Regions from separate parts of the Homo sapiens genome. Here region 1 is linked to region 2. The links are contacts of gene promoters, found by promoter capture Hi-C in blood cells and fetal thymus (Javierre and others, 2016). All regions are on one chromosome and are shown on one strand. Each heading gives the region's core, a stretch centred on a gene start or on the middle of the fragment in contact. The rest is flanking DNA. Distances are from core to core; before and after follow the strand shown. Region 1 holds the start of ABHD17B (abhydrolase domain containing 17B, depalmitoylase). Region 2 has its middle 23 kb from the start of ANXA1.

The links. The method cuts DNA at HindIII sites, captures the fragments that hold promoters and counts their contacts. A CHiCAGO score of 5 or more calls a contact.
Region 1: a contact is called between the fragment with the promoter of ABHD17B here and a fragment that was not itself captured in region 2, in 1 of 17 cell types (fetal thymus). The highest score is 5.5, in fetal thymus.

Annotation. Positions count from the first base shown.
Region 1 is chr9:71,908,939-71,915,193 of GRCh38, forward strand. It overlaps ABHD17B (abhydrolase domain containing 17B, depalmitoylase), which reads right to left and starts at 2,255. Exons shown (of 4, transcript NM_001025780.3): 1 at 1,696-2,255. It overlaps C9orf85 (chromosome 9 open reading frame 85), which reads left to right and starts at 2,701. Exons shown (of 4, transcript NM_182505.5): 1 at 2,701-2,898. The coding sequence starts at 2,797. RefSeq lists a silencer at 1,779-2,018 and enhancers at 2,469-2,778, 2,849-2,898, 2,909-2,968. The HindIII fragment of the contact is 4,051 bases long and covers 1,249-5,299 here.
Region 2 is chr9:73,126,178-73,132,339 of GRCh38, forward strand. No RefSeq gene overlaps it. Among named protein-coding and RNA genes, the nearest start is that of ANXA1, 23 kb to the right of the region's middle. The HindIII fragment of the contact is 348 bases long and covers 4,084-4,431 here.

The sequences.
Region 1 (6,255 bases), core at 1,005-3,504, 1.2 Mb before region 2:
CCAATTCAGTGTCAAACTTGGAACAGACACTAATTGCTTAATTCTTCTGTGTTCATTAAGCTACTAAAAACATTATTTTTTCATGATGTTTTTTGGTGATTTTGTTTGTCCCAGGAAACAGAAAATTCTTTGTCAGCAGTCATTTCATAAACATTTCAAAATGGGCAAAGATACTCAAGGAAACAAGCTACTCATCAACTAGAATACTGCACACTAAGGGACAAAATTAAAACTGCCTAGCCTGCTAAAAATCTAATCCTGTCCTTGCCAATTAACCTTATTAACACTAGAGTAGGAGAAAAGAGAGGTCAAAATATAGGTGAAGGTGCCATTCATTTCCTTCTGGATTTCAAATGATATGACAATTACTGCACAACAGAGATTTTTACCTCTGCTGTTCCTTAAGTAACACGACCCCTATTCTCCAAATAAAAACTTACCAACAAGTTGAGCAGTCTCAAATTAGAATACTAGCAATCATGACAATTTTCAAAATACTGGCTATCATTAGATGTCACCCAACTGAAATTCATGCTATAAACATATGTAGAGAAACTCTTTACGGAAAAAAGTTCATTTTAATGTAAATTTCCCTGTTAATCTAAACAGATTAACGTTATTACAACATGTATCTGGCTTTCTACTCCGACTCATTAGGTATTATAGTTTCATATGTTGGCACAAGATCTCCAAAGATTTATTAGAGGCATAAAAAAATTCCAAATGAATCATCTATAGATCAAGCATCATATATCACAAAAAGTATTAAACAGGAACACATTTCATAAACAGCGAAATTTAAAGGTCACCCTCTGTATTCCGTTATTCATCCTTTTGCTTACCAAATCTACTTCACACTGACTTAAAGCATCATTTACAAAAAATTCTCTTCTGGCATTGGCAGAGATCTCACCAAAGATCAAAGATCTGAACTTTTTTTTTTTTTAAACAAAAACCCCAGGTTAAATACACTCTTTCCTTCACGAGAGCCCCCACACAGTACAATCTAATTTGACATAACTTTGTTTCGGGGTTAAAAAAAATCCCAAACAAAACCTTTAAATTTTCCAATTCAAAAACGATTCCTGATAAGCCTACCTTAGAGTTCGAAAACAAATAAGATTAAAGCCCAACCATCTAAAGAAAAAGAACCCTACGACAGCCCCACCGGAATACACAAATCGCCAAGCCCCGTGCAGATTCAATCTAAAATCGCGCCCGACAGAGATATAAGGACATTCAGGAGAAAGCTTTTAGGCACCCGCGAATCTCTCAGTGCGCCAGTGAGGGGAATGGGAACCTGACCCCATCTTTTCATCCACTGAGAGAAAAGCAAAGGAAATGAAATGGAACCCTTCTCTTCACCGAGGAGGACCAAAGACCTTCTTAGAGTGTCGGTCGGTCCTCCCTCCCCCACCCCCTGACTCCGGCCGCTCCACGGACCGCAGGGACTGTCCTACCGCTCCCCTTCACGCAACCATCAGAGAATCCTCTCAAAAACACAGACCCGATGAGGAGTGGCTTCCCCGCCTTTCCCCTGTGCCGAGAAGGGATCCCGGTCGCCAACAACAAAGACGCTTCCCGCTCCCCTCCCCCCGCCGGCCCGGGCTCGTCCCTCCCGCGCTGCGGCTCCCGGCCTAGCGCCCCCTCCCCGAGCCGGGCTGCGGCGTCCCCAAACCCCGAGGCCGCACGCACCTGCACCTGAGCGGCCCGGGCCGAAGCGCCGGGCAGAAGGGGTCGAGAGAGAACCGCAGCCGACGCGCTGTCCTCCACAAGGCGAGATCCGCGCTCCGGGCGCCGTCCGACTCTCTCCGCCTGCAGACTGGCCCGACAGAGGAGCGGGGACCAGGGCTACAGCCCCCGGCGCCGGGGCGAAGAAGGACGGCGGCGCCCCAGGGGCCCCGCTCACGCTCCCGAGTCTCGCCTCGCGCCGGCCCTGCTCCTCCACAAGAGCTCGCGTTCTGCTGACTAACGGCCCCGGTGCGGGGCGCTGGAGCGGCCGCCGCTGCCCGTCGGTTGCTCTCGGGCCTCACGTCCCGCGCGGCCGTGGTCGCAGCCGCCGCCGCCACCGCCTCCCTTTCTGGCACTGCAGACGCCACCCAGACCTAGCCAGGTCTTCCTTCTCTTTAATCCTGCTTTCTTTGCTCCTCCTCAGCCTGCCAAGCGCGAGGCTCGTTCCGGTAGCGGGAGGAAGACTGGAGGGGAACGGAGGGGACGAGCACAATCCCCACTGAGCCAGGAGTTGGCCACTGACTGGAGGAAGGTGCCAAAGCTGACCCCGGCTCCAGCCTACTAGCGGGCGGGGGGAGAGACGGAGCCCAGCCTTGCCTCACTTCCACCAATCAGAGGCCGCCCGGCAGGGTGGGAGGCGCTCTGAGCTCAAGGAGAGGCTGAGCTCGCTCAGCAGGAGGCGGGGATTGCGGAAAAGAAGAACCAATAGGAACAAAGGTTCCCCGCCCCTTTGATTTGATGGACTACACATTCGGGCCAATGGGGGAATTCTCATTTCGAAGAAAGTGGGACTTGTTCTCCGGGTTTGAGAAAGAGGCTGCGCGGAGCCGGAGGGGTCGAGGCTGCGCCGCGTGGAGTGGCTTGGCTTAACAGCAGGGAGGGCAGAGCGATGCTCTTTGACCTCCCAGAAGAGTCACGTGGGCTGACCCAGAGCCGGGGCGGAAAGGCTGCGTTTGTTTCTTCCGGGTCATTGACAGAAGCGTCAATTCCTGGGAGTAGTTCGTTGGTTTTCTTTCCCCTCATCCTTTTGCCTGCTCCCGGCGAGGGGTGGCTTTGATTTCGGCGATGAGCTCCCAGAAAGGCAACGTGGCTCGTTCCAGACCTCAGAAGCACCAGAATACGTTTAGCTTCAAAAATGACAAGTTCGATAAAAGTGTGCAGACCAAGGTAGGAACCTGCCTGTTGCACCGTCTTTGACTCCAGGAAGGAATGGCTCACTGGAGAGGGGAGAGAGGAAATGAGAGGAGTCGGCTGGGGCGAGTGTGGACCGCAGCCCAGAGTTAGTCTTGGCTGCAGTGCAACTCTTTCTAAAATGTTATTCTCACGCCCTTTCTTTGACCTGGACATGTTGTCTCCTGGTAAATATTTGATGGTCAGCACACTTAACTAATTGCACAGAGTGAACAGGACCCTAATGAAATCTAAGGTGCAGATGGGGCAGTTACGTCGTTCAGCGTTCCCATCTGGATCACATTAGCAGAGGGAAACGAGGATTGTGGCATGAGTGGCTTTTTCAAATTTTACACCAAGTTTATGCAGCTACGATTTTTTTTTCCAAAAACCCCAAGCCCATAGAGGAAATGTGAATGATTAAGCTGTCTTAGGCTGTCCTCACTAGTATTGTGTGAAATTTCTGTTTTGTAACAATTGTTTTGAAGATAAAAATATTTGGTTAATGTAAAAATACTTGTTTTGCTGTTTATCTTTAGCAGGACTTCTGTAAAGTCCTGCTAAAAAATTCAGACTGTCTAGATAGCCAGAGGACTTGGGTTGTATATAAGTACTAATTTGCAGGCCGGGCGCCGTGGCTCAAAGTGCTGTAATCCCAGCACTTTGGGAGGCCGAAGCGGGTGGATCACCTGAGGTCAGGAGTTCGAGAACGACCTGGTCAACATGGCGAAACTCCATCTGTACTAAAAATACAAAAATTAGCCGGGCGTGGTGGCGGGCGCTTGTAATCTCAGCACTTTGGGAGGCCGAGGTGGTGGGCGGATCACCTGAGGTCAGAAGTTCGAGAACGACCTGGCCAACATGGCGAAACTCCCAATCTGCTAAAAATACAAAAATTAGCCGACGTGGTGACGGGTGCCGGTAATCCCAGCTACTCGGGAGGCTGAGGCAGGGGAATCGCTTGAACCCTGGAGGCGGTGGTTGCAGTGAGCTGAGATCACATCACTGCACTCCTGGGCGACAGAGCAAGACTCCGTCTCAAAAAACAAAAACAAAAAACTACTAATTTGCTCTTTGCTGTGAATCTCTCTCCCTGTCTCCATAGCTGTATGGAGAGAAAATCATTGACAACAGGGGCATATTAGGGGCCAGCATCACTCAGATAAACCTAATATTCACAAAAGTTATGGAGCTCAAATTTACTAGGTGTGCGGCTTGAGTGAGTTGTATAATATTTAATTTCTCTGAGCCTTACTTTGGTCTCAAATGCAAATTTGTCAGGATTGTTGGGAGGCGAAACTATATGATTATGCATAAATGGCCTAGGTCATAGTAAGTGTTCAATAAGTGATTAATTTCCCGACATTGATTGGGAAAGCAAAGTCATCTGTTTTTGGTAACCTGTGATCTCCTTTTCCTTTCCTCTTTCTTTCTTTGCTTATTCTACAAATATTTAATAAGCACCTTCCGTGTGCAAGGCCCTGTGTTCATAGGTATACCGTGTTCAAAAGAGCTGACTCTCCCTTCACGGAGTTTATAGTTTCTAGGTGATATGGGCAAAAAGAAAGCAGAAAGATAAGTAAATACAAATTATGATAAATATTGGTGAAGGGCAACACAGCTCAGTAAGGGAGAATAAGGAAGAATATTTTAAATTAAGTGCTCTCCTTTCCCCCACTTAGGTTGAGAGGTTTTTCAGAATGAAAACCTGAAGCAACATTTGGGAAGACTTTCCCAAGTTTGCTCCCATTATCAATAGGTAAACCAGAATAAAAATAAAAAGCTGCACTATTCCAAATAGATGTCTGCGTCTTGTGTATTCTTACCCTAAGGTTGTGCACAAACATTTGCTTTTGATTGTTTTTCATGTCTGTTTTCGTAAAAAGCAGTTTTAATGAGTATTTAACTATAGTGTAGCTTCTCCTACTTGTACTTTTCATTGTGCATTTTCTTGGTGTTATCTAATAACTATGTCATTCTGGTCCTAAATGTTTTCCTGGGTCTCAGGTTCAGTCACTAAGTTGCATTTGACCATTTTTATCTTTTTATCTTTAATTCCTTTCCCTCTTTTAAGTTATGAAAAAGTCTCATTTGTTAATCAGGAGGACCACCAGGCCACTTCATTATTGAAGGTTCTGACAAAAACAACACAAAATATTTTACTGAGGAAAAATCATTCGGTTGATTGTTCATCTGTGTAATGAATAGCTAATAATTGTCTGTGATCATAACAGATTCTTGCATCTGCTATGAGTAGCCATCTAAAGCCAAGACTTTGTCAGAAGCATCTGATCCTAACTTTGTGCCTGTTCTTTACACTGGAAAGCTATTTGATCTGGTGACATCTAACAAAGGAGTGATAAAAAATGCACGGTTCTCTGTAACTCCCCATAAAGCAAGCTTGTCCAACACATGGTGCAGGGCGTCTTTGAATGCAACCCAACACAAATTCGTAAATTTTCTTAAAACATTATGAGATTTTTTTGTGATTTTTTTTTTTTTAAGCTCATCAGTTGTCATTAGTGTTAGTGTATTTTATGTGTGGCCCAAGACAATTCTTCCAGTATGGCCCAGAGAAGCCAAAAGATTGGACACCCCTGCCTTAGAGGACTGTAGTAACAATTGACTACTTGTATTAAATACTTTATGATTTGGTAGGGGTCCTACATGATAGTTTTTCTTTTCCTCCTCTGCCAAGCAGTTTGTTAGGACTCACTGCAATTAGAAGTTGGATAATTACAGATGTTTTATTGGAAGTTAATATAGGTAAAGCACTCATTCTCAAAAGGACACAGATGATAGCTTTCTTTATATGCTTGAATATACTCTAGAAAAGGAGAGTATATTCAAATTTTGTGCCATTTCAAATGGCCAAACTTGGACCAGGGAATCAAAGTAACAAAAATAGGTTTCAGCTCAATATGAGGGAATTATCTGACAGTGAAGGGGCTTGCGCCGGGATTTGTAACCTCCTCTTCCCTGGGGTTATTTAAAAGAGGTCCCTCTGGCCATTGGTCACCGGTACCCTCAAATGACTTATGGGGATTCAGAGGGTCGGCAGTGGGAATAGGTTTAAATCTTTTCTAGTCATTTAGTACTGAGATGTTGAGCAGATCAAGGCAGCCTTCTTTCCCTTACTGGAAAGGCAGTGATGTCCAACGAAAAGAGCACTGGACTAAGAGAAAAGAGCCATTCCTTAGCCCCAGTTCTGTCATTTGTTTTGCTTGATGATGTCAGGCAATTTACCTATAGCTTTTAATCTATGATACTGGGTTAGTACTATCTCTTGTCTTACTTTCCTCTGAGGATTGCTACAGAGATCATTACAAAAATTATTATTATTATTTTTTTTTT
Region 2 (6,162 bases), core at 3,008-5,507:
TGGTTTGCTGCACCTATCAACCCATCATCTAGTTTTTAAGCCCTGCATGCATTAGATATTTGTCCTAATGCTCTCCCTCCGCTTCCCCCCACTCTTTTTCCTATATGTGTTAATTGGAGATTGGCTGAATTGGAAAGTTAATATTTTTGTCTATATTTAGTTTCTAGGATTTAAATACTAACTCAGTTTTGTTTCCTGGGAATAAAATTGTCTCTTTATTGTATTATAACATGAGATTTTGATGTTTTAATTTGTAGATTTAAAAGTTAATTCACACTGGTTGTGAATAAAGCATTTGTGAAACTAACATAAAAATAGTTTCCCATACAAAATATAATGTCCATGCAATATTTATTTAAAAGTTTATTTTAGCTCCGGAAAGGTGTTGAAGATTATTCTATTAAAAGTTGAATTGTGTTTGGGATATTTTCTATTGTATGGGTATAAACAATGTCCCCACATAAATTCATTCTTGAAGATAACCCAAAGCCCCTTTTACATTAATTTCTCATGTCACTTATAAAGTAACATGCAACATTTTCAATTTCTATTATTAAAAATAGTACTAAATGATTTCACATCAATTCTTATATTTGACAGAATAAAAATATAATCACCTAATTTTTGTATATATTTATATAAAATATTCCTAATTTGAATAAAAAATACTATACCACATTTACCATTTTGTATCTCTTTCTATTAAGAACTGCATCTCTATGTTTTGTTCTTAAAAGTTTGAAAGCTGGATCATCATTCTTGTAATTTTTTTAGATAATAAGAAAGATGTTAGGTATATTAATTTTGGAGTTAAAGATTCATAGTAAATATCTTTTGCAGGCAATGAATATGTAAAATTATAATCCCAGGTAAAGATAACAACCATACAAACAGGCCGGATACAGTGGCTCACGCCTGTAATCCCAGCACTTTGGGAGGTCAAGGCAGGTGGATCACGAGGTCAGGAGTTCGAGACCAGCCTGGCCAACATGATGAAACCCAGTCTGTACTAAAAATACAAAAATTAGCCAGGCGTGGTGGCATGCACCTGTAATCCCAGCTACTCGGGAGGCTGAGGCAGGAGAATTGCTTGAACCCAGCAGGCGGAGGTTGCAGTGAGCCAAGGTCGTGCCTCTGCACTCCAGCATGTGTGACGGAGCAAGATGCCGTCTCAAAAAAAAAAAAAAAAAAATCATACAAACAATAGAGATGAGGAGCGAAAAAAGTAAGATCAACTTTAACATTTTACTATATGGTAGAATGTCATTCAATGAGTCATTATATTAATTAGATTTGGAAATATAAAATTATGTACAATCAGATTTAACAAAGTAGACTAAAATATGGGTCTTATTATTAGTCCTTTATGGAAGCAAAGAGGTTCTGCCACTTGTGTGATTGTTTACTGCATTTTTTTCTTACATATAGACAACAATTCTCAAAGTTGGCTATGCATTTTGTTTTTTAGGACTGTGATGGAAATCCCTGTGTGTGCAGTTAAGAAAACAGAATTTAATATATATTAAACTAAGCAGAGGCTTTAATAGTAATCAATCAACTAAGTGTTCTTTTTATTCTTCCAGTATCCTAGACTTTCCTTATCCTCGGTTAATGTTGTACCTGGTGGTCTAAATTGATCATTCTGTGGGGGACACATTTCCTCAGCCTTGAAGGAACTGTGCTCTTGGTACCCTGCCCTCATCCTACTACAGCTGCTGTATTTACTCATTCACTTTTATCAGCAGGTGGAGAAACGTCAAGATGTATCCAAATGATCTTCCCGGGTCCATAGTTGATACTCTATTATATAAAAGCTATCCTGGGTAAACTTTTTAGAGCAGCCTACATTGACCAAGTATGAGTGGCAATTTCAGGTTCCTTTTCTGGAAAAAACAGGATGTCTAATGGAGCAAAAGCTAAAATTGTGAGGACAGAAATCAGGTGTTCTGCAAATGGTTTCCTGGCAATGAAGGCTTAGGGCCAGAGAAGACACCATGGGTGCTCTTCCCTCTGATGGCTCTTTCACTACATTCATAGCTGCCTCAGTGTGCTCTCAGTCCCATGAGACAGCACCCTGTGATTATCAGTGGCTGCTGTATTAGTTTGCTAGGGGTGTCTTTAAGACTGGGTGTCTTAAACAATAAACATTTATTTTCTCAAGGTCCAGAAGCCAGAAATGTAAGATTAAAGCATCAGCAGGTTTGGTTTTTCTGAGAAAACTCTCTCACGTGGTATGGCAAGGAGAGAGGCCATTTCTCTTTAAAGGCCCTATCTCCAAAACAAGTCACATTCTGATGTACTGTGGGTTAGGACCTTAACTTATGAATCTGGGTGAGGGACCTGCAATTCAGGCTGTCACAACCACTTTATCTGCACAAAAGGGAACTAAATATGCCTGGAAATTTACATTCCCTCAGTCATAGCTCTAAATCAATGACTGGTAGGTGCACAGGTAAGACTTTACCTCTATTGACCAATTCAGAGTTGAGATCTATACTGTGCCCAGAAATGCATGGCAGGCTTGAACAAAAGATGTACTTCATTGGAAATTGCTTGATAATGCATCCTTTATTGGTCTTCTTCTGTTATTATTCCCATTTCTCTGTAATTTCTTGGGAATATACTCTAATACATAAGTTACACACAAATTTTCATCATAAGATTTGTCTTTCGAATGCTGTTATGGGTTGAATTGTGTCCTTTAAAAATATATCTTAAGGTCCTAACCTGTAAATATGACCTTATTTGGAAATGCAATCATTGTAGATGTAATTAAGGTAGGGTGAGATAATGACACTATGTTAGAGTGGGCCCTAAATCCAATATGAATGGTGCCATTATAAGAAGAGGGAAACTTGGACACAGAGATAGAGACACTCAGGGAGAATGTTATCTGACCACAAGGACACAAAAAGGAGAGTGCCATGTGAAACCAGATGTAAATATTGGAATGGTGCATCTATAAGCCAAGCAATGGCAAAGATTGCCAGCAAACCACCAGAAGGCAGGAGAGAAGCACAGGACATAATTTCGTTTGGAGCACCCAGAGGAAATCAACCCTACCGAGACCTTAATTTGGAACTTCTATCCTCCAGAAGTGTGAGAGACTAAATTTCTGTTGTTATATGCCAGCAAGTTTGTGGTACTTTCTTATAGCAACCCTAGGAAACTAATGAAGAAACGCAACTTGAAAATAGGTTATTTCAGAAGTGGTCCTAGGAAGCATACACTTAGGAAGGGATTCTGAGTTAGATCACTTGCCATCTGGATAACAACTGGATCACACTGTTGGAGATTAAACTGTTAAAAACTGAAAACTCTAGCACTGTCATTGCATAACTTTTGCCAGTGGTGAGTTGGCATGGGATACAGATGAAAGGAGACTACACATGCATTTCAGAGCTATGGGGGGATTTATTAATTATAAGATTTGGAAATTGGTTGGTTGTTGCTAAGTGTCATTGTGCCGAAGAAGAAAATTGACAAGCTCAGGTTTGTCCGTTACTAACCAGGGGCATGGTATGAAAGATTGGAGGACTCCAGGGCAGCATTTAAAGAAACCCATGCTTTCTATAGCTAGAAGACAGATTGAAAGGAAGACTGGATGATAAACTTTACTATAAAAGTAGTAGAAATACAACAAAAGATGAGTTAATAGCCTTGGCAAGGTTTTATGCTAAGTCAGAACCCTGATAGAGATGGTGCAGAGAATTGTAGGTGGATGTGCTCAAAATTATAGAACTCGCAGATTCCTTTGAACCCCTGGGCATATAAGAGTGGCTTATTTAGTTTTGCTGGAACATAGCAGCTTTCTCTTGCTTGAAGGCCACACCAAAACCTCAACCGAGATGGATGCCTTTGACGATGATATTTGTCCTTATCAAGATCTGACTTCACTTTCTCTCCTGTCTTCTAGTTCTGTATCTAAGTCTCAGCATGGGCCAACCAGGGAAGGGAAAAAATTACTCTCCAAAAGAACATCAAGACGTGATTAATTTGCAGCAAAAGGAATCAGGACAGCATGCCAGGAAGTATATCTTGATAGCGCTGGATTGGGGTGAGAGCTGGGGATAGTGAGAGAGAAGCTTGATAAAGGAACATTTGTCAACAAGGGAACATTCTTCCATGACTGAAAACTCCCTAACAAGAGCACCTGGGAATGGTTCTAATACGCTGCTTGGATGGTTACTAAAAGTTCTGTAGGGGGAAGAAAAAGGCTCACATTAAATTAAGCAGAGATGACAGAACTGCTTTAGCAGAGTTTTGAGGAAGGGCTCAAAAGGCTCAGAGAAGTGAGCATGCTAGAATGATTCTATTGTGTAACACCAGAGAGACTACCAGCTGATTATGTTCATTGAAGGGCCAGAGAACATTCTCATCACAAAGCTGATAAGGAATGTGCTATTGATGGAGGGATTGGCATATTTGAGAAGCTTAGTGATAGCTGGACCGAAGTTGACAGTAGGCAATACTGTTAGAGAACTGGGCTCCCTAGTGTCAATGGAAATGATTATATTCCAGAATATCAGGGGTCAAGTGCAATATAGTCAACCACTAGAGATCTATGGTGATGGCTGATATCCCAAGGTGTTTATCGAGAAAAAATAGATGGATAGACAACAAGAGCGTGGTTGGCTATACATAATCAAGGATGATTAAAACTGGATGAGCAATTGGAAGCCTCATGTCATCAATGCCCACGGAATATTACTTCTTGACCCAGTTTAAAAACCTGCACCAATTCTCAGACCCACAGAAGGAAGCTGCAATGCCACAAGCATACACAGCAGAGATTTCTGTGCATACAGTTGTATACATTTTAAAAATAATCCACTTATAATTTGAATTACAACCAGGGAGTCCACTATGCATATTCTAGTCTCTTTATCTTGGGTAATGATGCTTCTCGTCTCTGGAATACCCTTTGGCACCTTCTCTATGTGAGTGCTATTTCATGTTTTAAGGCTTACAGTAACCTTTCTCGATGACCTCTATCTCTTAGTAGAAATCACGTTCTCCAAACAGCTATCTTGTTCATTTAACATTTACTATATTCAGTTTTGAATGGTTGTTAAAATTTTTATGTAAATAAAAGTTTTTTGGAATTGTCCATTTGATATATTTAATTTATTCCATTTATTAAACTTGAAGTAGACCTTCGAGAATCAATTATTATTGATTCTCAAAATGCAAATATTATTATAGTTATCCCTTTATCCTAGATTGTTAATTGGTTGAATTATTTGAAATCCTTGAGATAAACTAAAATAGACAGGAATACTTAATACAGAATGATTAACTTGGGTAGATAGACAGATTAAACTTAGCTTTTGTTTAAAAGCTGGAATTCTAAGTAGTCAACATCAGATGAGTCAAATGAAAATTGATACCCATTGTAGAACTAATGAATGGTCTTGCAGTTTAAGTCCTTTCTTAACTCTGTCATCTTTTACTTTGTAATGACTAAAAAGCTACAATTACTATCACAGGAGTCTTCAGTATGTTACCATGCCAAAACTGGGAAATGTGGCTGGCTGTTTCCTAATGGAAAATTGTTAGCTTCTTGGCGACATGAAGAAAAGGATGTTGGGATTGCCCTTTCAGACATCAAAATTCATTACAAAACTTTAGAAATTAAGATACTGTGGTACCGGGAACGAGAAAGATCAAAAAATAGACGGAAGAGAACAGAGAAAATTGAAAGACATATCTATATGTCTATATCTGCACATACAAATATGCATATGCAATCACACATAGTTGATAAATCTCACAAGAAATAAAATTTAAAAGAAAGAATCAAAGTGAATATGGTGTTAGTAAAAAAAAAAGGCTATGAATTTTTGAATACTTTTTCCCAAGGTGGTGACATTCCAGCATATACTACAAACAAAAGAGGCCATTCACCGGATGATATCATCCCTTCAAAAATAAACTTATCCTCAATTTCCTGATTAAAATCAGACATTCTTCTGCTTGACAGAGGTCCTTACTTCCTGTTTTCTCTAGCATTTGCCAAGTGGCTCTGAGGACTTCGGTGTAAGAACACTCACTTAACTGTTCTGTAGTGCTGACTTTGAATACTTGAACAATAACCCACATTTCTAAATTTTCAATTTAAATAATGGTGCTTTTTGTTTTTAATTTTGCCTCATTTTCGAA